4 separate regions of the Homo sapiens genome follow, and regions 1, 2 and 3 are each linked to region 4. Evidence: promoter capture Hi-C in 16 types of primary human blood cells and fetal thymus (Javierre and others, 2016). All regions are on one chromosome and are shown on one strand. Each heading gives the region's core, a stretch centred on a gene start or on the middle of the fragment in contact. The rest is flanking DNA. Distances are from core to core; before and after follow the strand shown. Region 1 overlaps NMNAT2 (nicotinamide nucleotide adenylyltransferase 2). Region 2 overlaps SMG7-AS1 (SMG7 antisense RNA 1). Region 3 overlaps NMNAT2 (nicotinamide nucleotide adenylyltransferase 2). Region 4 holds the start of LAMC1 (laminin subunit gamma 1).

Region 1 (2,931 bases), core at 261-2,760, 270 kb after region 4:
TATCATACCCAGTATTTTCATCCCCTAAAAATTCAGTGTTCCACCCATTCATGCCTCCTCTTTTCCCAAACCCCTGGCAACCACGGTTCTGTTTACTTTTTCTATAGATTTGACGTTTCCAAAATGCCATATGGTTGGAATCATACAGTATGTACCCTCTTTGGACTTGCTGTTTTCACTAAGCAGTATGCATTTAAAGTTCCTCCATGTCTTTTCATGGCTCGATAGCTCATTTCTTTCTTTTTCTTTGAGAGGAAGTCTCGCTCTTGTCCCCTAAGCTGGAGTGCAGTGGCGCCATCTCAGCTCACTGCAACCTCCGCCTCCCGGGCTTAAGCGATTCTCCTGCCTCAGCCTCCCAAGTAGTTGGGATTACAGGCGCCTACCACCATGCCCAGCTAATTTTTTGTATTTTTAGTAGAGATGGGGTTTCACTATGTTAGCCAAACTGGTCTCAAACTCCTGACCTCAGGAGATCCGCCTGCCACGGCCTCCCAAAGTGCTGGGATTACAGGCGTGAGCCACCGCGCCCGGCCGGCAGCTCATTTCTTTTAATCACTAAATGATAGTCTATTGTCTGGAAGTACTTCAGTTTATCCATTCATCTACCAAAGAACATCTTTGCTGCTTCCAGTTTTTAGTGATTATAAATAAAGCTGATATGACATTCATGTGCAGGTTTTTGTGAAGACGTAAATTAGGGAATCTACACAAGGAGCCATATGAATCATATGGTAAGATTATGTTTAGCTTTTTAAGAGGCTGTCAAATTGTCTTCCAAAGTGGTTGTGCCATTTTATATTCCTACCAGGAATGAATGAGACTTTCTGTTGCTCCAAATTCTTACCAGCATTTGGCATTATTTGGATTTTAATAAGTGTGTCACTCTGATAAGTGTGTCACATTTGCTTTTTTTTTTGATGGAGTCTAGCTCTGTTGCCCAGGCTGGAGTACAGTGGCATCATCTTGGCTCACTGCAACCTCCGCCTCCTGGGTTCAAGTGATTCTTGTGCCTCAGCCTCATAGGTAGCTGGGATTACAGACGTGCACCACCATACCCAGCTAATTTTTTTATTTTTTAGTAGAGATGGGGTTTCACCATGTTAGCCAGGCTGGTCTTGAACTCCTGACCTCAGGTGATCTGACCACCTCAGCCTCCCAAAGTGCTGGGATTACAGGCATGAGCCACCGCACCCAGCCCCATATTTGCTTTTTAAAAGAGTTGTAGTACTTCACTTGTTTTCAGATCTTATTCTGAGGCCAAATTAAAGGCCTTGCAACAATCTATTCTGATATTTGAAGAAATTGCACAGCCTCTCCCTGTTTCTCTTGGACCTTCACACTCCGCTCCTCTTCGGGGTCATTTCTATCTGGCCCTTGGCAGTCACAGACCCTCTGCTGCAATAAGCCAGAACTTCTTTACTCTCCCTGTCCTCCAAATAGTGCCTTCTAACTCTTCACTTCCCAAGCACTTCATTCAAACCCAGCTCTACCCTACCCCACATCTAGCATGCCTTCCCTGCCCAACAGCCTCCTGCTCTGGACTTATTTCCCGGCCACCTCACTAATCTCACTGTGTATCCAGTGCAGTCCAAGGGACCTGGAAACTGTTTCTGTAAAATGCCTTCTTTGCAAAGTTGTTGTGAGGATCAAATCAAATTACGAAAGTAAAAGTGCATAGCGCTAAGTGGTTTTACTGGAGAATTCCACATAAAGAACTAAAACCAAGTCTACATAAACTCTTCTAGAAAGTAGAAAAGGAAGGAACCCTTTTTTTTTTTTTTTTGAGACGGAGTTTCGCTCTTGTTGCCCAGGCTGGAGTGCAACGGCGTGATCTCGGCTCAGCGCAACCTCTGCCTCCCGGGTTCAAGCGATTCTCCTGCCTCCGCCTCCCGAGTAGCTGGAATTACAGGGATGTGCCACCATCCCCGGCTAATTTTGTATTTTTAGTAGAGACGAGGTTTCTCCATGTGGTCAGGCTGATCTTGAACTCCCGACCTCAGGTGATCTGCCCACCTCGGCCTCCTAAAATGCTGGGATTACAGGCGTGAGCCACCATGCCCGGCCTAGGAAAGAACACTTTTCAATTTATTTTATAAAGCCAGTATTACCCTGATATCAAAACCAGGCAAAGACAGTACAAAGAAGAAACTACAGGCCAATATCCTTTATGATTGAATACTCAAAAATCCTTAACAAATGTTAGCAAATAGAATCCAGCTATATATAGAAAGAATTATACACTGTGACTAAGTGGTGTATATTCCAGGGATACAAGGCTGTTTTTTCAGTATTTGAAAAATCATTCAATGTAATCCACCAGCAAGCTAAAGAAAAATCTCATGATCCTATCAATTGATGCAGAAAAAGCGTTTGACAAAATTCAACATTCATTCATGACAAAAACTCTCAGTATAATAGGAATAGAAAGAAACGTCCTCGACTTGACAAAGAGCATCTGCAAAAACCTGCAACTAACATCATACTTAGTGGTGAAAGATTGAATGCTTTCTCCCTAAAATGAAGAACAAGGAAGGAAGTGTGCTCTCATTGCTGTTATTCAACCAGAAGTTCTAGTGCACACCATAAGGCAAGAAAAGGAAATAAAAGGCATACAGATAAAAAAAGGAAAATAAAAAAACCTGTCTCTATTTGTAGATGACTTGATGATCTACCTAGAAATCCCAATAAATTTACAAGGAAACTCCAGCAACTAATAAGTGAGCTCAACAAGGTCATAAGTTACAAGATCAACATAAGAAAATTAATTGTATTTCCATATGCTAGCAACAAACAAAATCAAAATAAAAATACAAAGCAAATGTTAATCAATTCAATGAAATACTTAGGTATAAATATAATAAAACATATACAGGGCTTGTATGTTAAAAACTACAAGATGCTGATGAAAGAAATCAAAGAAGATCTAAATAA
Region 2 (3,114 bases), core at 381-2,880, 440 kb after region 4:
AATGTGTTCTTACATCTTAACCCAACAATATTAAGAATTGTTTTTAAGATGGAGCCTTGCTATGTTGCCCAGGCTGGCCCCAAACTCCTTGGCTCAAGTGATCCACCTGGCTCAGCCTCCTGAGTAGCTGAGATTATAGGCACCTGCCACTGTGCCAGGCTAATATTAAGAATTTTAACAAATATGACCAGGTGAGGTGGCTCACCTGTAATCCCATTACTTTGGGAAGCCAAGGCTGGAGGTTCTTGAGCCCAGGAGTTTGAGACCAGCCTGGGCAACATAGGGAGACTGCTGTTTCTACAAAAAATAAAAAAATTAGCTGGGCATCGTGAGGGAAGCCTGTAGTCCTAGCTACTCGAGAGGCTGAGGCAGGGGAATTACTTGAGCCCGGGGGTTGAGGCTGCAGTGAGCTGTGATCATGCCACTATACTCCAGCCTGGGCAACAGAGCAAGACCCTGTCTCAAAAAAAAAAAAAAAAAAAAAGAAAGAAAGAAAGAAAAAGAAAAAGAAAAGAAAGAACTTTTACATATATGGAACAAACTATCCAGGTTTTTGATATGTAAAAGTTTTCTGAGAATAGAAAAGACCCTGGGATTGTTAAGCAAAGCAAAAAAGTGCTTGGATGCATATTCTTAGTATGCCTTGAAGTGATGGACCTAAGTCCTAAGTTTCTTTGCTTTTCATCTTTATCACATTTTAACTTGAATTGCCAATTGAATTGGTACAATAATAATGTCAGGGAAAAGAGGAAGGTGTGTGTTATTTCGTTTTCACACTGCTATAAAGATACTACCCGAGACTGGGTAATTTATAAGCAAAGGGGGTTTAATTGACTCACAGTTCCATATAGTTGGGGAGGCCTCAGGAAACTTACAATCATGGTGGAAGGGGAAAAATGGACCTTCTTTACAAGGCAGCAGGGAGAGACAAACAAAGGAGGAAGTTCCAAACACTTACAAAAACATAAGATCTTGTGAGAACTCACTCACTCATGAGAACAGCATGGGGGAAACCACCCCCATGATCCAATCACCTCCCTCCCTGGACACGTGGGGATTACAGGTCCCTCCGTCAACATGTGGGGATTATAAATAGAGATCAGATTTGGGCAGGGACATAGGGCCAAACCATATCAGTGTGTGCATGTGTACATGCATGTACATGTTTCCCATGGTTTTGAAGAACAGATTTATGACAATGAATATCAGTATCACATTCTTAGTGCTCCAAATTACTATCTACCTGATAAAAGTTAGGAAAGTAGAAACTAGAAAATATTAAAAGATTATGTTATTTTAGTTGGGTGTTTTAAGAAAAATATGGCAACTTCTAGGTAACTGAACAGACTTTGACATGAAATATGTTGCTGTTAGATTAGGGACCCACAAGATGATTTCAGTAAGTACTGTGCTTCGGGTAGTAAAGAGATGCATGAACACTAAGGCCTTCTGCCAATAAAATAAGAGAGGCTACGGTTTTTGTTTTTGTTTTTCAATACTTTTCAATCTTTCCTATGAGCATCTCTTCTTGTCTTCTCCAGATTGTGTCCATTAAATCAGCAGATAAGAATTTTAGGTGTGGTAATTTCTCAGAGGTATTTGCTTATTGGGAGTTGGGGGAAACCTTGAAGATAGTAAGATTTCCCTTAGTAAATATTAGGAGAATGGAGAAGTGAAGGGGGAGAGAAAGCTCTGAATATTATTCCCCAACTGTCACCTCAGTGCCTCCCAAATCAGAAGTTTCTTTTCTTCAATCTTGGACTGCAATGATTCCCGACTATTCTTCAGGCTAAAAGACTCCCTCTTTGGAGTGAATGAATAAATATACACTTGGCAAACTGTTTGAAAAAGGCTACTGACCCTTGATCTAAGAAATCTTGAGCAACAGGAGACCTGAATTTAAATGTCAATTTGTATCTGACTCACTATTTGAAGAGAATGAATTACTCATTTGATTGAATCACTTAACTCTATGGTCTGAGGTGTGGTACTGAAGAGGAATGAATGGCTAGCTTCACACATATTGTGTACTGAGTATGCAACTGATAATAAATGTGTTTCTGCTTTGATGAGAATGATTTACCAAGTTCCTAATTGTGCACAGGATTTATAAACATTCAGAATATATAGGATAAATATTAAAATAAATTAGGGCTTGTTACGATGTCATGGCACAGGCTGTCTATTATTATAAAAAGGGAGGAGGCCTGCTATGTATTAATCGTCAGGTTACCAAAGCTCTGGGTAAATTTGGTAAGAATGTTAAGAGTAGCTTCTCAGCAAGTACTGTGTTTGATTGAAAAGAGGCCATTCCATCTACTTGGACAGAAATGTGGTTATATTAGCCTGTTTTATGTGATAAAAGGTTTTTGAAAAGTTTTAAATCTCTAGCATTGGACTCACAATGTCCTAATATTGTGTTCTTTTCTGTAATCAGTCATGAATAAAGAAATCTATCTTCTAGCACTGGATGCCAATAGATTTGAATGTGAGTTCAGACCTATGAGTATTATAGACAAAGACTAGATTGAGAGCTGGGTACAGTGATTCACACCTAAAATCCCAGCTACTTGTGAGGCTGAGGCGGGAGGACTGCTTGTGGCTAGGAGTTAGAGATAGATAGCCTGGGCAATACAGTTAGGCTGCATCTCTATTTAAAAAAAAAAAAGACTAGATAGAGTATTATTTTAAAAAATAATGTTATGCTGTAGTAGTTCTATTTTACTCTTTTTAGCTTGATATAAAAGAGCAAAAGGGACTGGGCAAGGTGGCTCACACCTGTAATCCCAGAACTTTGAGATGCCAAGGCAGGTGGATCACTTGAGGTCAGGAGTTTGAGACCAGCCTGGCCAACATGGTGAACCTTGTCTCTACTGAAAATACAAAAATTAGCTGGGCGTGGTGGCACACACCTGTAGTCCCAGCTACTTGGGAGGCTGAAGCACAAGAATTGCCTGAACCCAGGAGGCAGAGGTTGCAGTGAGCTGAAATTGTGCCACTGCACTCCAGCCTGGGTGACAGAGTAAGTCTCTGTCTCAAAAAAAAAAAAAAAAAAAGCAAAAAGGCAGAAAAAAATTTAATGTTTATCAAGTTCAGTGTTGTATAATGGGCACT
Region 3 (3,033 bases), core at 40-2,539, 300 kb after region 4:
GAAACTTTGACTCTGAGGGTTAAAGAAGGGACTAGATAACCAGGTGGATGGAAGAGGACTGGGAGAGGACCAAGAAAAATTAATGAATAGGATTAATCTCCAGTCACACAACAGAGAGGGAAAGAGTGGACATAGCTATCCCCATTACCCTTTCTCAGCAGTATTCATAATTATATTTTATGTATGTATGTATGTATGTATGTATGTATGTATTTATTTTTGAGACAGAGCTCACTCTGTCACCCAGGCTGGAGTGAGGTGGTGCAATCTCGGCTCACTGCAACCTCCGCCTCCCAGGCTCAAGCAATTCTCCTGCCTCAGCCTCCCAAGTAACTGGGATTACAGGCATGTGCCACCATACTTGGCTAATTTTTGTATTTTTAGTAGAGACAGCTGGTCTCTACTAAATGTTGGCCAGGCTGGTCTCGAACTCCTGACCTCAAGTGATCCGCCTGCCTCGGCCTTCCAAAGTGCTGGGATTACAGGCATGAGCCACTGTGCCTGGCCCTAATTATACATTTTTTAAATAACAAAGTGGAGACAGACATTTAAGATAACTTCTCTCAGTTCACACAGCGAATTATGAAGATGTGTTGGCTCAAGCATCACCAATCCAGTACGCCAAAAGGGCCATATTTGCAGGCATTCCTTCTTGCTACCTCGACAGCTCATGTATACCAGTGCTTCTTACTGTTTGCCAGCAACTCTTCTCAAATTCAGACATCTGTACACTGCACAGACATCAGTATGTCCCAGAATCGTTTCCAACGGAGTGGTGGGTAGGGGTGAGTGGTTGAAGAAGAGCAGGGATGTTTATTCGCCAGCACTGAGTTCTCTGTACTCACAAACTAGGCAATTTCTCAGTGCCACAAGGACATTTCTGAGTCACTTGGACAGATCTCTTGGGAGTGATGCCTGGAGAATTAGAAATAAAAATAGTCTTCTTAGCTGCTGTTTTTTGTGTGTGTATGTGTGTTTTTCCCCTTTTGCCCTGGGAAGCTACTGCTTTCCCTCCCTGTCCTCGCTGGCCCTGTCTACTCCCTGGCTCCCCTGGGTTTCAGAGGAGCTGGCACTGAACACTGCTCTTTCTCACTTGACATCCTCTCTCCAACTTAGCAAGCAGGTCTTCTGCCAAATCTCCAGGTCGGTGGCTCATCAACGTCAGCTGCCCCCACAGCTTCTAGGGCAGGCGGAGAGGTTGTTCCCTCCAGGACTTGGGCCAGAGAGGGGAGAATAGGGGTCATGGGAGGGAACCATCACCTGGTCTCGGACCACACAGTATTGCAGCTGGACTCCAGCCACTCAAACACACTGAGTTGGCAGGTCCCTGAAAACTGAAAAGGGAGAGGGATCAGATGCCGCAGGCCAGGACCCTGGCTTCCTGGCTCCCTGGCTTCCTCCCCACCCATCTGCTCTACCCCCTCTCACCTCCAGAAGCCTTGGAGGGGCTATGATTGTTTTGGACAGTCTGAAGCTGAGATCAGCAAAATACGGACCCTCAGAGAGCATTTTGAAAAGAGCCTCTCTGGTGCTACATGTTAATAAGCCCTTCTAGGAGAATGCTCTTCTAGAATTTGCCATTTCTGCCTCCCTACCATTCCTCCTTGGGCAATGCCCTTGGGCAATGAAACCTCTGCTCTCTAGTCCTTTCTGAGGGAGATGGTGATCAGGACAAAGCCCTAGCCAGCCCCATGAGTCAGCATGGTCACTGCTGATCTGACCATCAGGCTTGGTGTCAGGAGCTAGCAATCCTCCTGGCTCTAGTTAGGTGACTTGTCTCTAGGAGCCCTGCCTACTGTCCTCCCAACCTCAACACCTAGTGCCATGGGAATGATGTTCTGCACCAACAAACCTTTGCCTCCTGTGAGGAAGATCTTGTGGAATGTCTGCCGCAATCTACAGAGTCTCCTAGCCTGACCTGTGGACTCACAGTAATAGTTGGTAGCCACCTTGTAAAATGTGACCCTACTTCCCATTCCAACATCAGTTGATTGGACTATAAAAGCCAATAGAAATCCTTCCCCCGGTATTTGGATTGCAGGAGAGAGAGACAGAGAAACATGGAGACAGAGAGATTTGGTCCTTCTGTGGGGCTGTGGTTGTCTGTTTTTGTGCTGTGCAGAGGTAGCAGAGGTAGCAGAGGTAGAGGAGCAGAGGTAGCAAGTCGGTAGAAATAGCAAACAATGTATCAGCTACAGAGAAAGAGGCAAAGATGAGAGACAGACATACTGCAAGGGTTCCCTACAGCTTTCCAAATCAGGGTTCCTAGCCTCCCTGAAGCCCATTTCTGCCTATGGGGGTTCATGATTTCTATCCCCCTACCAGCATAAACTAGAGTAACAATCATGTTGTTGTATTCCTTTAATTCAAACAAATATCCATTTTAATTGTGTGTGTGTGTATGTGTGTGTGAAGAAACACTAAATTGAAGATAAATATTATAAAATTTATTGCAGTTTCAGAAATGCTCAGCATGAAAGTCATATATCTTAGCATTGAGGAAATAGGATATTTTAAATTCCCTGATCTGGACTCTTAATTAGGTAAAATGGTCCATTTTAACCCATTAAAGTGTACATTCCTCCAAGTCATTCAGGAGAGGTTGGAAACTATCTGTTAAAACCTGTGTGGGAGGAGACCTACTTGGATAATCTTCGGCTGGATAAGAATAGCTTTTAGCAATTTCTTACTGAGCCTGCCATGGGGATGACCCTGCTAAGATCATTATTCAAGCCCTCACTGTTCCCCTCATGGAGGGCTGCAGCCAGAGCCACACTGAGCTGTCCTCCTTCCCAACAGATACTGCCCACCCATCACCTTTTTGCTGAACATATTCACTTTCCTTCCTGCTCCTACCTTTTCTTGATAACCCCCAAGGTGAGATCCAGGAGCCTGCAGAGATGGTTGGTTCCAAGCTTGACTGAGTGCTCTATGGGGGCATTGCAAGCATCCGGTGTTAGAGAGGTATAGAAGTCATCTAATCTACTCCCTCCTCTGAAAGCCATGGAATTGGGGCTCAGAAAACTTAAATGC
Region 4 (2,927 bases), core at 233-2,732:
AAGGTGCCAAGAATGAGGCACCTTTAGCCATGCATAATCTCCACCCATCTCATCAAATAAACGGAACAGTGATGAACATAACTTGCTAAGTAAGCTCAGCCGTGTAACAAGACCCTAGATTCCCCTCCCTTCTTCATCCTACCAGAACATTATCCTTAAGGTTTTCCTAATCAGCAGTCTGCGTCTAACTAACCCTAACTATCCAGAGTCACCTAACATATACTTATTTCCTTGTTTCAGATTCCCATTACGCCTATCTTAATGGGACAACTGGGTCCGAAATTATGCATGTGTTTTTTTGTTTTGTTTTTGCGGTGTACTTATTATCCGCACTTTATCATTAAATTCCTGAAAAGCTAGAACAAAACAAATCCGTGTCATTCACTATGTGCATCCTCTCTGCTTGGGGACGCCAAGGGTTTCAAGCTGCTGCCTCCCTGCCCTGGTCTCTGCTTGCCGTATCCAGCACTGGGTAAGCGCCCAGGTTCTGCTCCGGGACTAAAACTCATGATCTTCTGGCTCAGGTTCTGTGAACTGAGTCATTCTGGCACTGAGAATATTCCGTGACTCAGCAGGCCCGAAAAGGAGGATGTCAGAATCCACATAATTTCGAGTCTTTTAAAGGCAAGCCGAGGAACACAAACAACACAGTGGAAGAATTTCGCAGTGGGTCGTGCGTACCCAAGGGAAAAATTCATTCCATTCCCAGCCTTTTCACTTCCTTCCTTGCCCCGGTAAAACGACTGGTTACACTTTAAATCAGCGGCAGGAAATCGCTTCACGAAACTCATCTGGCTGCTGCGACCAGGCCCTTCTGATTCTCCAGGGACCGTGTCGGCCCCATGAACGCCCCGGGACCTCTGTTCGGGAGGGGCTGGAGCGGGGCCCCGGGCAGCAGCGGGCGCTCCCGGTTCGGACCCACACCTGGCCGGGCGGGGACCCTCTTGCCGCAGCCCAAATTGGCGCGAGGCCCCAGGGACGACCCCGAGCGACCTCCTGACCCGGCATCGCCCCTCTAAGGCGCCCTCCCCCGACTCCTCCCGCAATCCGGAGTCTCCCAGGCCGCGGAGCCCAAGGACCCCAGCGACTCCCGCGCGGGGAGCGGGTCTGCGAGGCCGCCCTTCCCTCCCGGCATGCACCACCCAGCCGCCCTCCCCTCCCCTCCTCTCCTCTCCCCTCCCCTCCTCTCCCCTCCTCTCCCCTCCCCTCCCCCAACCCCCTCCCCCGGCTCCCCGCCCACCTCGCGCGCCCCTCCCCCCGGGTCGCGCGCCGCGGGCCCGAGCGCGAGACGCCGCTGCTCCCGCCCCCGCCGCCTCCTGGAGTCGCCGGGGCGGACGCGCAGTCCATGGGGCGCGGTGGGCCGGGGAGTTGCCCCAGGGGCCGCGGGAGTTGCTGAGAGGAGACAGGGTTGGGCTTTCTCCTCGCCCAGACCCCACCCCACCCTGCCGACCCCACCCCCTGCTCCTTCCTCCCCGGGGGCGCGCACTCGGGCACGCGCTCGGAAGTCGGGGGTCGGCGCGGAGTGCAGGCTGCTCCCGGGGTAGGTGAGGGAAGCGCGGAGGCGGCGCGCGGGGGCAGTGGTCGGCGAGCAGCGCGGTCCTCGCTAGGGGCGCCCACCCGTCAGTCTCTCCGGCGCGAGCCGCCGCCACCGCCCGCGCCGGAGTCAGGCCCCTGGGCCCCCAGGCTCAAGCAGCGAAGCGGCCTCCGGGGGACGCCGCTAGGCGAGAGGAACGCGCCGGTGCCCTTGCCTTCGCCGTGACCCAGCGTGCGGGCGGCGGGATGAGAGGGAGCCATCGGGCCGCGCCGGCCCTGCGGCCCCGGGGGCGGCTCTGGCCCGTGCTGGCCGTGCTGGCGGCGGCCGCCGCGGCGGGCTGTGCCCAGGCAGCCATGGACGAGTGCACGGACGAGGGCGGGCGGCCGCAGCGCTGCATGCCCGAGTTCGTCAACGCCGCCTTCAACGTGACTGTGGTGGCCACCAACACGTGTGGGACTCCGCCCGAGGAATACTGTGTGCAGACCGGGGTGACCGGGGTCACCAAGTCCTGTCACCTGTGCGACGCCGGGCAGCCCCACCTGCAGCACGGGGCAGCCTTCCTGACCGACTACAACAACCAGGCCGACACCACCTGGTGGCAAAGCCAGACCATGCTGGCCGGGGTGCAGTACCCCAGCTCCATCAACCTCACGCTGCACCTGGGTAAGCGGTGACAGCCCCGTCCCCTGCTACTGCTCGCCAGCAGCCCAGCTCCCGGACCGGCTCCGTCCCAGTGGCCGGCCTCACGGGCGCAGACGGCCGCGTGTTTGCTCTCTGTTCCCCGGCATGGGCCACACAGAAACTCCTTTCTCCAACTTCTTAAATAGATACTGCTTTTAACATCCCGTGAGGGCCAGGATGTTCCGCACGAGTCTCTCTGCTTTCCTGTTCTTTCTGACTTAACGGGATTCTGGCTCTCTGATTATTCTGCATTTCGGCTGTTAGGATTGTGATTTCCCCCTTTTTTTTCTGAAGCGTTAATCAGAAACTCCCATCCCCACTTTTCTCTTTGCTAGCAAGGTCATCACAGCGCATTCTTGGATCGGAAACAAGAAGGTCCGCCTTAAACACTTTCGCCTTTAAAATGTTTAGATGTCCTTCCAGGGCTGAGGGTGATTGCTCTGTTGAGTTAAGGGGGAATTTGAGGGGAGCAAATGCCTTCGCTGCCTATATTGCCTATGTGTAATTAAAACATAAATTCACTTTTGAAGTTATTGTTCTTTATAGCTGCTCAGCCTTAATTAAGAACCACAAAGCGATTTGACTGCTAATCCTGGTGCAGAATGAACAAAAGGAAGTGCACTCACTGTAATTGCTGGGCATAGCCTTGTCCCTGGGTAAAAAGGCTCTCCTTTACTGTCTTCCCTTTTGCTTTCATTCAAAGCAACTGTAG

What was found. The method cuts DNA at HindIII sites, captures the fragments that hold promoters and counts their contacts. A CHiCAGO score of 5 or more calls a contact.
Region 1: a fragment that was not itself captured here is called in contact with the fragment with the promoter of LAMC1 in region 4 in 1 of 17 cell types (endothelial precursors); the score reaches 6.8 in endothelial precursors.
Region 2: a fragment that was not itself captured here is called in contact with the fragment with the promoter of LAMC1 in region 4 in 3 of 17 cell types (total B cells, endothelial precursors and naive B cells); the score reaches 7.4 in total B cells.
Region 3: a fragment that was not itself captured here is called in contact with the fragment with the promoter of LAMC1 in region 4 in 1 of 17 cell types (endothelial precursors); the score reaches 6.2 in endothelial precursors.

What each region holds. Positions count from the first base shown.
Region 1 is chr1:183,295,617-183,298,547 of GRCh38, forward strand. The region is part of intron 1 of NMNAT2 (nicotinamide nucleotide adenylyltransferase 2); the gene reads right to left. Among named protein-coding and RNA genes, the nearest start is that of LAMC2, 110 kb to the left of the region's middle. The HindIII fragment of the contact is 9,865 bases long and covers 1-2,931 here.
Region 2 is chr1:183,465,969-183,469,082 of GRCh38, forward strand. The region is part of intron 3 of SMG7-AS1 (SMG7 antisense RNA 1); the gene reads right to left. Among named protein-coding and RNA genes, the nearest start is that of SMG7-AS1, 4.5 kb to the right of the region's middle. The HindIII fragment of the contact is 3,386 bases long and covers 1-3,114 here.
Region 3 is chr1:183,326,849-183,329,881 of GRCh38, forward strand. All of the region lies in intron 1 of NMNAT2 (nicotinamide nucleotide adenylyltransferase 2), which reads right to left. Among named protein-coding and RNA genes, the nearest start is that of NMNAT2, 90 kb to the right of the region's middle. The HindIII fragment of the contact is 3,248 bases long and covers 1-2,913 here.
Region 4 is chr1:183,021,938-183,024,864 of GRCh38, forward strand. LAMC1 (laminin subunit gamma 1) reads left to right here and starts at 1,483. Exons shown (of 28, transcript NM_002293.4): 1 at 1,483-2,197. The coding sequence starts at 1,780. RefSeq lists enhancers at 180-735, 736-1,290, 1,846-2,399 and silencers at 802-1,191, 1,222-1,611, 1,662-1,731, 1,752-1,891. The HindIII fragment of the contact is 7,676 bases long and covers 1-2,927 here.